4 separate regions of the Homo sapiens genome follow, and all the other regions are linked to region 2. Evidence: promoter capture Hi-C in 16 types of primary human blood cells and fetal thymus (Javierre and others, 2016). All regions are on one chromosome and are shown on one strand. Each heading gives the region's core, a stretch centred on a gene start or on the middle of the fragment in contact. The rest is flanking DNA. Distances are from core to core; before and after follow the strand shown. Region 1 overlaps LINC02725 (long intergenic non-protein coding RNA 2725). Region 2 holds the start of FLI1 (Fli-1 proto-oncogene, ETS transcription factor). Region 3 overlaps LINC02725 (long intergenic non-protein coding RNA 2725). Region 4 has its middle 75 kb from the start of LINC02725.

Region 1 (3,020 bases), core at 113-2,612, 530 kb before region 2:
TTATTTCCCTAATTCCCTTTCTGGCAGGTCCTACTGGGTTAGTGTGATCTTCTGCGGAAGGCTGCAGCTGCTGTCAGGAGGCCCTCTGTCTACACTCCTCTCTGGAGAAGTGTAAGTGTTTTGTCAGGTAAATACTTCGTCACTCTCCAGCGTAGCAGTGAGAATCATCCCTCCTATCTCTAGCATCAGAGTCCCTCCTATTGTTTCTAACCACCCACCCCCCGTATCCTTGTAAATAATCTCTTTATTAAATTGTCTGCAAATTACTTCATTTTAATGTGCTGTCCATTTCCTTTTGGGACCCTGGCTGATATTGATACTGATGTTGGGTAATTACTGATTATTGATACTGATAGTTGACACTGATACCGATAATAATTATTATTAATAGCTAATATCCATAATTTGATACTGATTATCAGAAAAGGATACTGACACTCTAGGATATTAGCAGGATCAGTAAATACTGACACTGATACTGATATTAATACTGGCTGCTACTGCTAGGTAATTACTAGGTCTGTCTATCAATCTATCCATCTATCTAGGATGTTCTCACTCTTGTAAATATCTCTATAAAGCCTTGTCAAACAGAAAAAGGAGACAATGTGAAAGGGTCTTGTGTACATTTAGTCTCTATTCATCTATTACAAGTTTCCTTTCTAAACCAAATAGTTCTATATTGTTTTGGAGACTATCTAACCCTCATTAATTAGCTGTTTTATTTCTATTTCTTTATTGCTCATATATAACAATAGGAAAACTTGGTTAGTCAGTTAATTAACAAATATTTAGTAATGTATATTATTATATGACTTGAGACATGATAAACATGTTCTAAAAGTGTGGAACACAACATTTGATAAGAAAGGCAGAATCTCCATCTTCAAAGAGATTGCATTATAGTGGAAAGAGCCAGACAATATATAAATATATAAACCAAGAAATAAGATCATTAAGGTACTGATAAGTGTTATGAAGAAGATGAAACGGGGTGATTTTGACAGACATTGACTGTAACAGGACCAGTTGTTTTAGAGAGCATCAGAGCAGCTCTTCATGAGGAGGAGCATCAGAGAAGCTCTTCATGAGGAGGAGCCTCATGAAGGTGAAACCTAAATGATGAGAAGCCAGCTATGTAAGAGGAGCATTTGACACAGAAGGAACCATAAGTACAAATGTAATGAGATGAGAAATTTCTTTGGTATGTTGAAGACATCAGGACAGGTGAGTAGCATGCACCTGTGTCCCAGCTACACCAGAGGCTGAGGCAGGAGGATTGTGTGAGCCCAGGAGCTTGAGGATGCAGTGAGTTATGACCATAGCACTGCACTCCATCCTTTTGTGATGTCTTTTTTTTTTTAAGAAACGTCACTGTGTTCCGGGTGACAGAGCAAGATGACATTTCTGAAAAAAAAATGGGGGGACATCACAAAAGACCATGGATAAAACTAAGTAAACCAGAGAAACAAGAAGGAAGAGAGAGAGATGAATTGGGTGCATTGGCAAAGCCAGATAATGTTAGAATGACCAGGCCATGGGAAGAGTCAGGTTCAAAACATACTTAGAAGCCACTGGAGACTTTTAAATGGGCATAGGAGGATCTGATTTGTAGTTTAGAATGATTTCTCTGGCTGCTGCGTGTAGAACAGATCCTATGTAAGGGAGCAAATGTGGAGGCAGAAAAGCTACTGCAGAGGTGATAACATTAGCTAAAAGATCACAGTATCTGGGGAAAGGGTGGTTGCGGTAGAGAGAGTAAAAAGTAGTTGGTTTCAGAATACATTTTAATGGAAATGGAATAGCAGACTGATGATTGGATAATGGGAATTGAGGGAAATCAAGGAATCCAGAATGACTTGTAAATTTTTGTTCTAAGAAATTGAGTGGATAATGATGGCATTTACTTAAATAGCAAATACTTGTGGAGGTAAATTCTGGATATGTGGGGCAACCAAGGGTTTTGTTGATGCCATGTAAACTTTGGCATGCCAATTAGATACGAAGAGATACTGAGTGGAAAGCTGGATACTCAGGGGACCACAGTCTTCTGTTTCCTGGATTTCAGGTCCCTTTTAAACTGAAGCATAGTGAGAACAAGTGTAAAGCACAACACAGACGGAAGATTGCACCTTAGCTCACTGCCCCGTGCACCCCGGTTACACCGTCTAAGAAAACACTCTGGATTCAATCCTTGGAAAAGTAGGTAGGAATTTGCTTTTCATGGAATTCAATCTGAATGGTTTATAAAAGAATCAAGTCAGTTATTCATGTGGCAGCATTATGTGCCCCTAAATTCTCTGATTTCCATTAACTAATCTCAAGTAAATAACAATAGGCAATGTGTCCAATATTTTGATCTCTCCAAACTAGTAAGAGGCTCAAGATCAGAATCAATTCTTTGCAGAAATTCCAATCTCTTCATCACTAACATGGTATTTACTCTCAGTATGTGCTGAGCTACCACTTCTGGAAGAGTCTTTCCTGGTTAATTACTTGAAACCTGTTGCATTGGGAATTTCTCAGAAAGTCTGCCTTGATGAGCTTTACTCAAGAGCCGCAACTTCACGGATCGGACAACAGAAAAGACTTCGGCAGTTACCAAATCTGAAGTACTCATTGTGCATGCTAGCAATCTGGGACTAATAAGGTTAAATTGTCTGAGACCTCAAGGTGGAAGTGACAGGTGGGTCTAGAACTCAAGTTTACCAATGACAGTCCAGTGTTATTGTCATTATCCTTTAGAATTGTTCATTTATTCATTCATCACACACTTATGAAAGTCCTATTATGTATTATATACTAAGCTTGAAGACCAAAACAAATCAGTAAGATCCCTATCTTAAAGACTCTTAGATCTAGTACATGACTTAGTATAGGTGAAGAATTTTAATATAAGACTCAGTAGATGCTATAATAAAATAATGAGCAAAACTATATAAAATCCCAGAGAAAGTTGAAACTTATTCTGTCTTGGATCTTTGGAAAATCCTAAAGAAATTTGCGAACTTTTATAGGGA
Region 2 (2,796 bases), core at 194-2,693:
GAAGAAATAAAGAATTAATAAGTCACCTTTTTTCGCCTCTGTGGACACCCTTTTGAAATTTTTTCTTCCAATTGACTTGGATCTCCTCTGGATTTTTTTTCCCTCTTTCCCCCGTCGGACTCTTAAATAAAAGTGAGCAAGTCCAAAGCGTGGTCCGGAGAGCGTGGACAAGGTAACCTGTTTTGGATGTCCGGGAGAAGGGAGTCCGGCCGAAAGGGCCCAGCCCCTCGAGGCTGCTCCAACTGGGGCGCGCGGCGGCCCAGGAGGGAGGCGGGGAGGTCTCCGGGTTGGGCCGGGGAACGCCGGCCTCCAGGCTGGGTAGGGAGGACGGTCCAGAGCGCGGGCCTCCGGGTCTCACCCCGGGAAAAGTCTGGGTCTGCTCTGCGCTGTTGCGTGCTGCGCTCCTGGGACCTGCTGACTGTCCTAGAGGGAACGTCCCGCGGTAGTGTCAGTTCCCTGGGGACCAGGAAGGGCGACTCTTGCCTGGGAGTCAGTGCTTGGGCCGTCGGGTCCGGGTAAGCGCTGGGGGTTTGGCTCGAGAAGATGCGGATAGGTGGCCTAGGGCGCCGCGGATCTCCGCCCTCTGCGGGCACCGGGAGCCCAGGGTCGAGGCGCGCCGCCCCGAGGGGCCCCTTCTCCTAACAATGCGCCCGGAATGGAGTCCGCGCCCTGACAGCGCGGGTCAGCCCGAAACCGCCCAGAATCCGCTTCGATGAGTGGGTGAGCCGCTCTGGGAGTCTGCCGCGTCTCGGCAGCGGAGGGCCTGAGTGGAAAAATTCTTATTGGATGCACTTTTTAATGGTTGGTTTGCCTCGGTTTTCGTCCGAGTCTTCCCCGGCAGTAGGCGCTGGGTTACCCGCAGCCCTAGCCAACTCTCCCTCCATACCCCCCCTACCCCACCCCCAAAAAGTTTGTCTCCGGCTGGAAAAAGCATTAATGAACGTATCTGTGGGAAGAAACGGAAAGTGAATGAGTCAGGAGGGCCACCTTCGGCCAACCGCCTCAGGAAAAGCAAAGAAGCCAAAGGTCTTTGGCTTTGGATTTTGGGGGAAGGTGATGGGGGGAGGTTCAGACTTCGGGAATCAGGGCGCGGACGCTGGGCGTGGACCCCGTCATTGTTCCCGGCTAGCTCTTATCTCCCAGGAGCAAGTATCCTGTGTGCGCAGCGCATGAATGTGTCTGGGCATCTCCGCGTATATTTATATAGTGTGTGATGCGAAAAGCAGGACCAGCAGGGGAGGAAGAGGGGGTGTGGGGGGGGAGGGAAGACGAGGGAGAGCAGAGGGGAGAGAAGAGAGAGGAGAGCTCGAGGCGAGAGAGAGAGAGAGAGAGAGAGAGAGAGAGAGAGAGAGAGAGAGAGAGAGATAGGACTTCCTCCCCGATTCGCAAAGTGAAGTCACTTCCCAAAATTAGCTGAAAAAAAAGTTTCATCCGGTTAACTGTCTCTTTCGCTCCGCTACAACAACAAACGTGCACAGGGGAGTGAGGGCAGGGCGCTCGCAGGGGGCACGCAGGGAGGGCCCAGGGCGCCAGGGAGGCCGCGCCGGGCTAATCCGAAGGGGCTGCGAGGTCAGGCTGTAACCGGGTCAATGTGTGGAATATTGGGGGGCTCGGCTGCAGACTTGGCCAAATGGACGGGACTATTAAGGTAAGCGGCGGGGCAACGGACGCGGGCGGCGGGGACCGGCCGGGGAGGCGAAGCGGCGGGCGGGTAGGTGCGGGGCCCGCGTCCCGGAAGACGTGGCCTCTCTCCCTTCCCTCCGCGCCCCGGCTTCGCGCCGGCTCCTCCGGCGCTCGGGTGGCGAGTCCTACTCGCGGGCCAGCCGGCCAGGCGCCCGCATTGAGGGCGACCCTCCCCCGAAATCCCAGCCCCCAAAGTGGAGCCCCGGCCCCCCTCCCACCTCGCTGCCCGCCGGGGCTGCAGGAGGGGACGGCGGGAAACCGGGGGACCCCAGGGTACGGAACGGAGTCAAGGGCGAGAGACCTCGGGGTCCACCACTCCCACCGACACCCGGGGCTCCCGTGGCCCCAGCGCTAGGCACTGGGCTTCCTCTCCGCAGAGGCGGAACACGGCGGGGGCGGGGGCTGCAGTCGCCCGGGCTCGGGTCCCTGCCTGGTGGGCCCTGGGGTGGGTAAGTGGCCTCGTTGCACGAGGGTAGGGGTGCAAGTGAGTGTGTCGGGGGATCTATCTGAGCGGGCTCCTCCAGATGGAAGCCCCTGTTTACATGTCAGCGCTTTCCCTTCCTCTCGGCACTCAGTCGCCCGGCTCTAGGCGCTGGAGAGCCGCCGGCTCCGCGGGACTCCTGGGCCGGCCTCGCCGCCTCTCCGGCGGGGAACCTTCCCCAGCCCCCGTCCGCACAGATCCCTAGCGCCCCGAGCCCCCGCCCTTCGCGCCTAGGCGTGCGCCGGCTCCAGGACCAGGGCTCCTGGAGCTGTCGCCTCCGAAAGGGTCCTGCGTCCTTCGGAGCCGCCTCCGTTGCAGGGGCCGGCTGTGAGCCCGCGCCCCGCGCCCGCCCGGCCATTCCCACCCCAGCCGCCGCCGCCAAGCCTGGGTCTAGGTTGCAAAGTGCAACCCAGGCGGAAAGGTGAGGGTTTGGGTTCGCGTCTCACTTCAGAAAAGTTGACTGCTGTCTCTGAAAGGGTTCGCCAAGTAGGGCCAGGAGCAGAGAGGAGGGACACCCCCTAACGTGACGGGCCTTAGAGGACCTAGGGGAATGAATGGGACCAGGGGTTAGCTTCGAGGCTGCCGCGCAACACCAAGCGGGAGTCTGTCTGGAAAAACTATTAGGCTGGCGA
Region 3 (2,700 bases), core at 147-2,646, 540 kb before region 2:
AAAGATTCGTCATTACAATGGGGTTGATAAACCTATGACTAATAGAGAAAGCCTATGTGGTTAAATTTGTTTTTTAATTATCTCAAAGAATGTGATGCTGATTTAAAAAATTCTAATGAAGCACCATTTTTACCTACACAATTGATATTTAAAAGTGTGAATATCCAGTGTTTTCAAGGTTGGCAACAATAGGCACCCTCTAACAACACAGGTGGGAAACTGCTTTAACAACAACAACAAACTTTCTACAGAGCAATTTAATAACAGGTATCAAAAAACCTTAAAAATATGCATACATAACACCCACAAATTCAACTTAGAGGAATTTTACATAAAAAGTACGAATGTAGAATTTGATATTTGTGTAAATAATCTTTGTCATAACTTTGTTTTATAAAAAGGACAAATGGATAAAAACTAAACTCCTATAATAGGAAATTGGTTAAATATAACACATGCATATAATATAATAAAATACACTCACTAAAAATCATACCTTAGAAAAATATTTGCCAACATGAAAAAATTTTTAGGTTGAAATAGAAACAGAATTTTCAAAAGAACAAGCCACAAACCAGCATTTGCACATGTTTCTAGATTTTACAATCCCATCCACGTGTATATACATACATTACTGCTACATCATGTTAGCAACATCTTTAGCTAGTGAGAATATGTTTACAAATTTCGTTGTATTCGATTTTTCATTGCACAGGTACTATTGCAGTGGAGGAAGGTGGCCTGAAGCCAAAGTATGAAGTCAGAAGCATGGTCTTCTGAGCAGTGCCCTCCTTTTCATTCCTGGCCTTGCTTCCTGAACCTGGTTAACAGTTTTTCTAACAAAAATAGCTCTAGCTTCAGTACCCGCCATGCCATAGCTCCCTGCTCAATTCCCCGCTATCTTGTGCTTTGAACAGGATTCACTAACACTCAATGGTATAGCAGGTCGGATGTGAGTAGGAAGCCCAGCTTTATGACCTTTGGCTAACTATTTCATCTCACTGAAACTTAGTGCCCCCTTCTAGAAAATAGAAACCTAATGTCTGTCTTATAAGGTTGCTGTGAGAATTGAATAAGAACATGTGTATAATGAGCTTGGTCATATACCAGATAAACTAATATTAACTCGCTGTAACTCATGATTAAATATCAGGTTAACATCTACTGAGTTCATCTTACCACGTATCATCCCACTAACTCCAGAGGGTGAGAATTTATTCCCTGCTTAATGCAAAGTTTCCCCATGACCAGAGATTCTGGTTCTCTGAGGGTGATTGGGGCTACTGAAAACCATAAGAACAAGCTTGTGACTGGTGGTATTTTACCCTGCTATTCTCTTCTCTCATCCAGAAGTGTCTTTAGAGCACAGGGAGGGGAGGTGGGAACATACAGCTGGGTTCTGAACTCACTCCTACCAGCATCCATCAGGGAGCTCAGGCTGACCTTTGCAATGTCTTTAAGACACAGGGATTAAGGCATAGGTGACCCATGAAGCTTAGGTAACTAGTCAAGGAAAGGGGAGAGGATGAAAGAAGCATAGGAAGGAATATTTTTGGGGTGGTGAGTTTGTAGTGTCCTTCGAGTTAAATTGCACATTCCACAGAAGCAGATACCTAGTCACTTAATGATCAAATCATTTAGGATGCATCCTCCTGAGAAGATTAGAAATGGGAAAGGTCTGTCATAGCTACTAGTTCTGGTATCTGAGTTGCTCTCTCTCCGCACTTCTCAAATTTGGCTACACATTGGAATCACCTACGGAGCTTTACAAAGTGCTGATGTCTGGATCTTGGACCCAGAAATTTTGACGTAATTAGTGTAGGGAAGTGTTTATTAAAGTAAAATCCCCAGATCAGCAGCCTCACCTGGGAACTTGTTAGTCTTTAAAATCCTCAGAGCTCACCACAGACCTGCTGAACCAGATACTCTGCAGGTGGAGCCTATCAGCCAGTTCTAACAAGCTGTCTGAGGGCCTCAGATGAGTGCTAAAGTGGGCAAACCACTGATCTAGGTTGGGGCCTGGGCTATCTCCCCAGCTCCCCAGATGATTCTAGTGTGCATCCAAGTTTGAGAACCACAGCTCTACATCCTTTTTTTTTTTTTTTTTTTGAGGATTCTTAGGTCTTTCAAATATTCACCTTCACTTTCATCATAAGCTTTCAATGGCCTTTCCTTATGTGCTTATGGGGTCTGTGGAAACAGTTTTCTATTATTTCCAGGTGAGGTGGCAAAATCTGTCATTGCACTGAGGGATGTTAAATTCTCTGAACCACTGACAAATGGGCCACAGAAAACTGCCCTCCAGCTGCAACTGCACACCAGCAAGTCAAATGGCTCAGTCAGGGCCAAAAGAAGGATAAATAAGCAGAGTCAACAGAAGCACTGTCAAGCCCTAAACAGGAGGATAGATCACAAGGCAGTCAGCTTGGCAGATTAGCAGTGGCAATGAAATACAAGGGCTGCAGATTTAAATCTAACCTCTTTGTTTTCATGCTAGAGAGCCCACAGTAGGTCCATGACCTATTTAGTTTAGATCTAACACAGCTTAGATTCTAGCACTTTGGAAGGCTGAGGCAGGAGGATCACTTGAGTCCAGGAGTTCAAGAATAGCCTGGACAACATAGTGGGACCCCATATCTACAAAAAATTAAATTATCTGGGCCTGGTGGTGCATGCCTGTGATTCTGGCAACTCGGGAGG
Region 4 (2,832 bases), core at 61-2,560, 670 kb before region 2:
TTAGTAGGGAAATTACATGAAAACAGTGTTGTTTTAGGAAGATTAATCTGGCCAAATTCAGAACGAATTAGATATGGCTAAAAGCTATGCATCTAGTTCAGATAATTAATTCCATCCAACAAGCGTTTATGAAGCTTTTCTATGGATATGTGCCGTCCATTGTCCTATAACATTGTCCTAGGGAGAAGCAAAGTGCTGACTCCAGAGATAATACAAAGTAAATATGATATGTACATATTCCTTAGGACATCAGAATTCTAACATTGGGAGCAACGCAAAAGAACTTTGGGTAAATACCTCTACTATAAGGCATTATAAGAGATGTTTCGCCGGCTGGACGCGGTGGCTCACACCTGTAATGCCAGCACTTTGGGAGGCCGAGACGGACAGATCACGAGGTCAGGAGATCCAGACCATCCTAGCTAAAACGGTGAAACCCCGTCTCTACTAAAAATACAAAAAAAATTAGCCAGGCGTGGTGGCGGGCGCCTGTAGTCCCAGCTTCTGGGGAGGCTGAGGCAGGAGAATGGCATGAACCTGGGAGGCAGAGCTTGCAGTGAGCCAAGTTCACACCACTGCACTCCAGCCTGGGCGACAGAGCGAGACTCTGCCACACACACACCCACACACACACACAAAAGCGGAGTGTTTCAAAACAGAAATATTCACTAAATGTTATGTAAGCTTCAAGGAGTAATCAATTAATATCAACTGAAGTGGAAGATTAACAGAAGGTCTCTCCTAGGTGACATGAGTGGAGCCTTGAAGGAGAATAGAGTATCAGCTGGTGGAACTTACTGCAATTGCACAATGTTGAGTCCTTTGCCACTATTACTCTACAGGCCAGCTTTATAACTCCCAGGCCCAAAGGCTGACATAGGCTTGGAGTTTCAGGTCAATTGTGTGGAGAGCTTGGATACGAACCATGCTCCATCCTGTAAATGTTCTAACTTGGGGGAAATCGGCAATAGACTGCTGGAACAACCTGATTCCGGCAGTAATGAAATATTGTTGGCTATTGATCTACCAGAAGACTGCATTGATTATCTGCCCTGTTGGTGACTAGGAAGCAGTGAAAAGAGACAAGAGGAGAGAACAGCGGCCATGCAGAGAGCAGGTGGTGCATGGTCCAGGCCTCCAGTCTGTTTCAAGAGATCCTGATGCTACTTTCTATGAGTACAGTGTTTGGGGGTGACAGGTTAGCACTTCACTGAAAGAGACATTGAGGGCTGCTGCAAGAACAGAGAAATGGTCAGCTGATCACTGACTTGCTCTCTATTCTTGGGCAGATCATCTTTCCCTGACACATTGTTCCTACCTGTAAATTGAAGATAATAATCCATGGCCCTTTGTTATCACAGTAAGTGGAAAATGAGATCCTGTAGGTGAAGGACGTTGAAGTCACAAAGAGAAAGGAGCTCTTCTATGAAACTTCCAGAGGGTAGTGGCAGCATCAACTGACATTTATGGGCGCTAACTCTGCACAGGGCACCATTGCTTATCCTGTACACTGCATTAACTAAAACTAAAAATTGTCCCTGTCTAGGGAAAGTTTGCCCTTCAAAAATCTTAGCTGCAGAGGTTACATAAATACATTCATAGAAGAAAAAACATAAGGAGGAGGGGAAAGATTTTTTTTAAAGCCCATATCTCTATGTTTAACTGACATGAGATTTTTATTTATTTTTACTACTTAAATTTTTTGAGCCTACACCGCAGGAATAAGCAGAGTCTATTAAAGAGTCTGATGCTGCAAATGATCTTACAGAAGATCACTAGAATTTATGATCAGCTCTGCCCTTGCAACCTGCCTTCCCTGCAGCAGCAGGCGAGGAAGGCAGAGAGGCTGAGAGGTCATTGGCTGACATCAGCAGGTACAAAGTATGCCATCCTTCCAGGTTTGGAGACGTGGAAGTAAACACGGATTGTGCCAGGAGCAAGCTTTGACCTGACTGTGGGGTTGCGGGTGGGGGCATGTGTGTCTGCTGGGCAGCAGGAGAAGAAGTTTCTCTCTGTACTGGGGCTGTGAAAGGCTGGGCTGCCCTCACACTGCAGGTGTCGGGGGCTCAGGAGCCTCTTCTTATCTTTTGTGTGACTGCAACTATTTTCCCAAGAAAATTAAAGTGACTTAGTCAGTTAACCTGAAATTCCCAGCAGCAGATTAGAAGTTTTGTCATCAGACTTTGGTGGCTGAGAGAGCAGAAAGTGCTGAGTGTGACAGAGGTGGGATTCCACTACCACCTAGTGGGCAGCAAGGGGCCACCTCTTTGCCCCTCATGGCTCCAAGGAACATCAAGGGAACTGGGAGGGAAACAGTCAAAAAGGAAGTTAATATAAGTTCTAGGTAGAATTAGACCATCTTGTAGTGCTTCCATCAGCCACCTGATGGGGTGCATTCTGAGCACCCCATCAGGTGTTGATAGTAGGTTGGAGAGCTGCTACCCTCCCTCAGAATTTGGTTCCTGGGCCCTGGAATGACAGGATGCACCCAGCCTGCTTCGGGGCAGTCGACTGGCCAAAGAGAGGCATTGGACCTGATTCGAGGAAACCTATTCTCATATTTGAAGCCAGGGGCTTATTCATCCACTGCAAAATCAGTTCACTGCTGTCAAAGACTATAGCTGAGTCATTTCTAGTTTCCTCCCTGCTGCCTGCCTTATGCACTGAGCATGTTGCTCTTGAAACACATTTTTTTGACAGTAGATGCAGTGCTCACAGTTTTATATGTGAAAGGAAGTGATGTTTATTATGATCACAATGAGACTAAAATGTGAGGATCACTGCCCACAAGCAGTTCATATTCTAGAGGAGCTGGGAGACACAAACAAGTAG

The links. Contacts are between HindIII fragments. The CHiCAGO score rates a contact against its expected background, and 5 or more counts as called.
Region 1: a contact is called between a fragment that was not itself captured here and the fragment with the promoter of FLI1 in region 2, in 14 of 17 cell types (activated CD4 T cells, total CD8 T cells, total CD4 T cells and 11 more). The highest score is 24.1, in activated CD4 T cells.
Region 3: a contact is called between a fragment that was not itself captured here and the fragment with the promoter of FLI1 in region 2, in 10 of 17 cell types (total CD8 T cells, activated CD4 T cells, total CD4 T cells and 7 more). The highest score is 15.0, in total CD8 T cells.
Region 4: a contact is called between a fragment that was not itself captured here and the fragment with the promoter of FLI1 in region 2, in 1 of 17 cell types (total CD4 T cells). The highest score is 5.3, in total CD4 T cells.

The regions. Positions count from the first base shown.
Region 1 is chr11:128,167,145-128,170,164 of GRCh38, forward strand. It overlaps LINC02725 (long intergenic non-protein coding RNA 2725), which reads left to right. Exons shown (of 6, transcript NR_183639.1): 3 at 28-111; 4 at 2,069-2,202. Among named protein-coding and RNA genes, the nearest start is that of LINC02098, 40 kb to the right of the region's middle. The HindIII fragment of the contact is 2,885 bases long and covers 1-2,805 here.
Region 2 is chr11:128,692,629-128,695,424 of GRCh38, forward strand. FLI1 (Fli-1 proto-oncogene, ETS transcription factor) reads left to right here and starts at 1,444. Exons shown (of 9, transcript NM_002017.5): 1 at 1,444-1,648. The coding sequence starts at 1,631. It overlaps SENCR (smooth muscle and endothelial cell enriched migration/differentiation-associated lncRNA), which reads right to left. Exons shown (of 3, transcript NR_038908.1): 2 at 27-763. RefSeq lists silencers at 503-552, 573-712, 1,396-1,765, 1,986-2,035, 2,076-2,295 and 1 more and a cis regulatory region at 932-1,664. The HindIII fragment of the contact is 9,137 bases long and covers 1-2,796 here.
Region 3 is chr11:128,149,617-128,152,316 of GRCh38, forward strand. All of the region lies in intron 2 of LINC02725 (long intergenic non-protein coding RNA 2725), which reads left to right. Among named protein-coding and RNA genes, the nearest start is that of LINC02725, 55 kb to the left of the region's middle. The HindIII fragment of the contact is 191 bases long and covers 1,302-1,492 here.
Region 4 is chr11:128,019,599-128,022,430 of GRCh38, forward strand. No RefSeq gene overlaps it. Among named protein-coding and RNA genes, the nearest start is that of LINC02725, 75 kb to the right of the region's middle. RefSeq lists a silencer at 402-600. The HindIII fragment of the contact is 1,257 bases long and covers 683-1,939 here.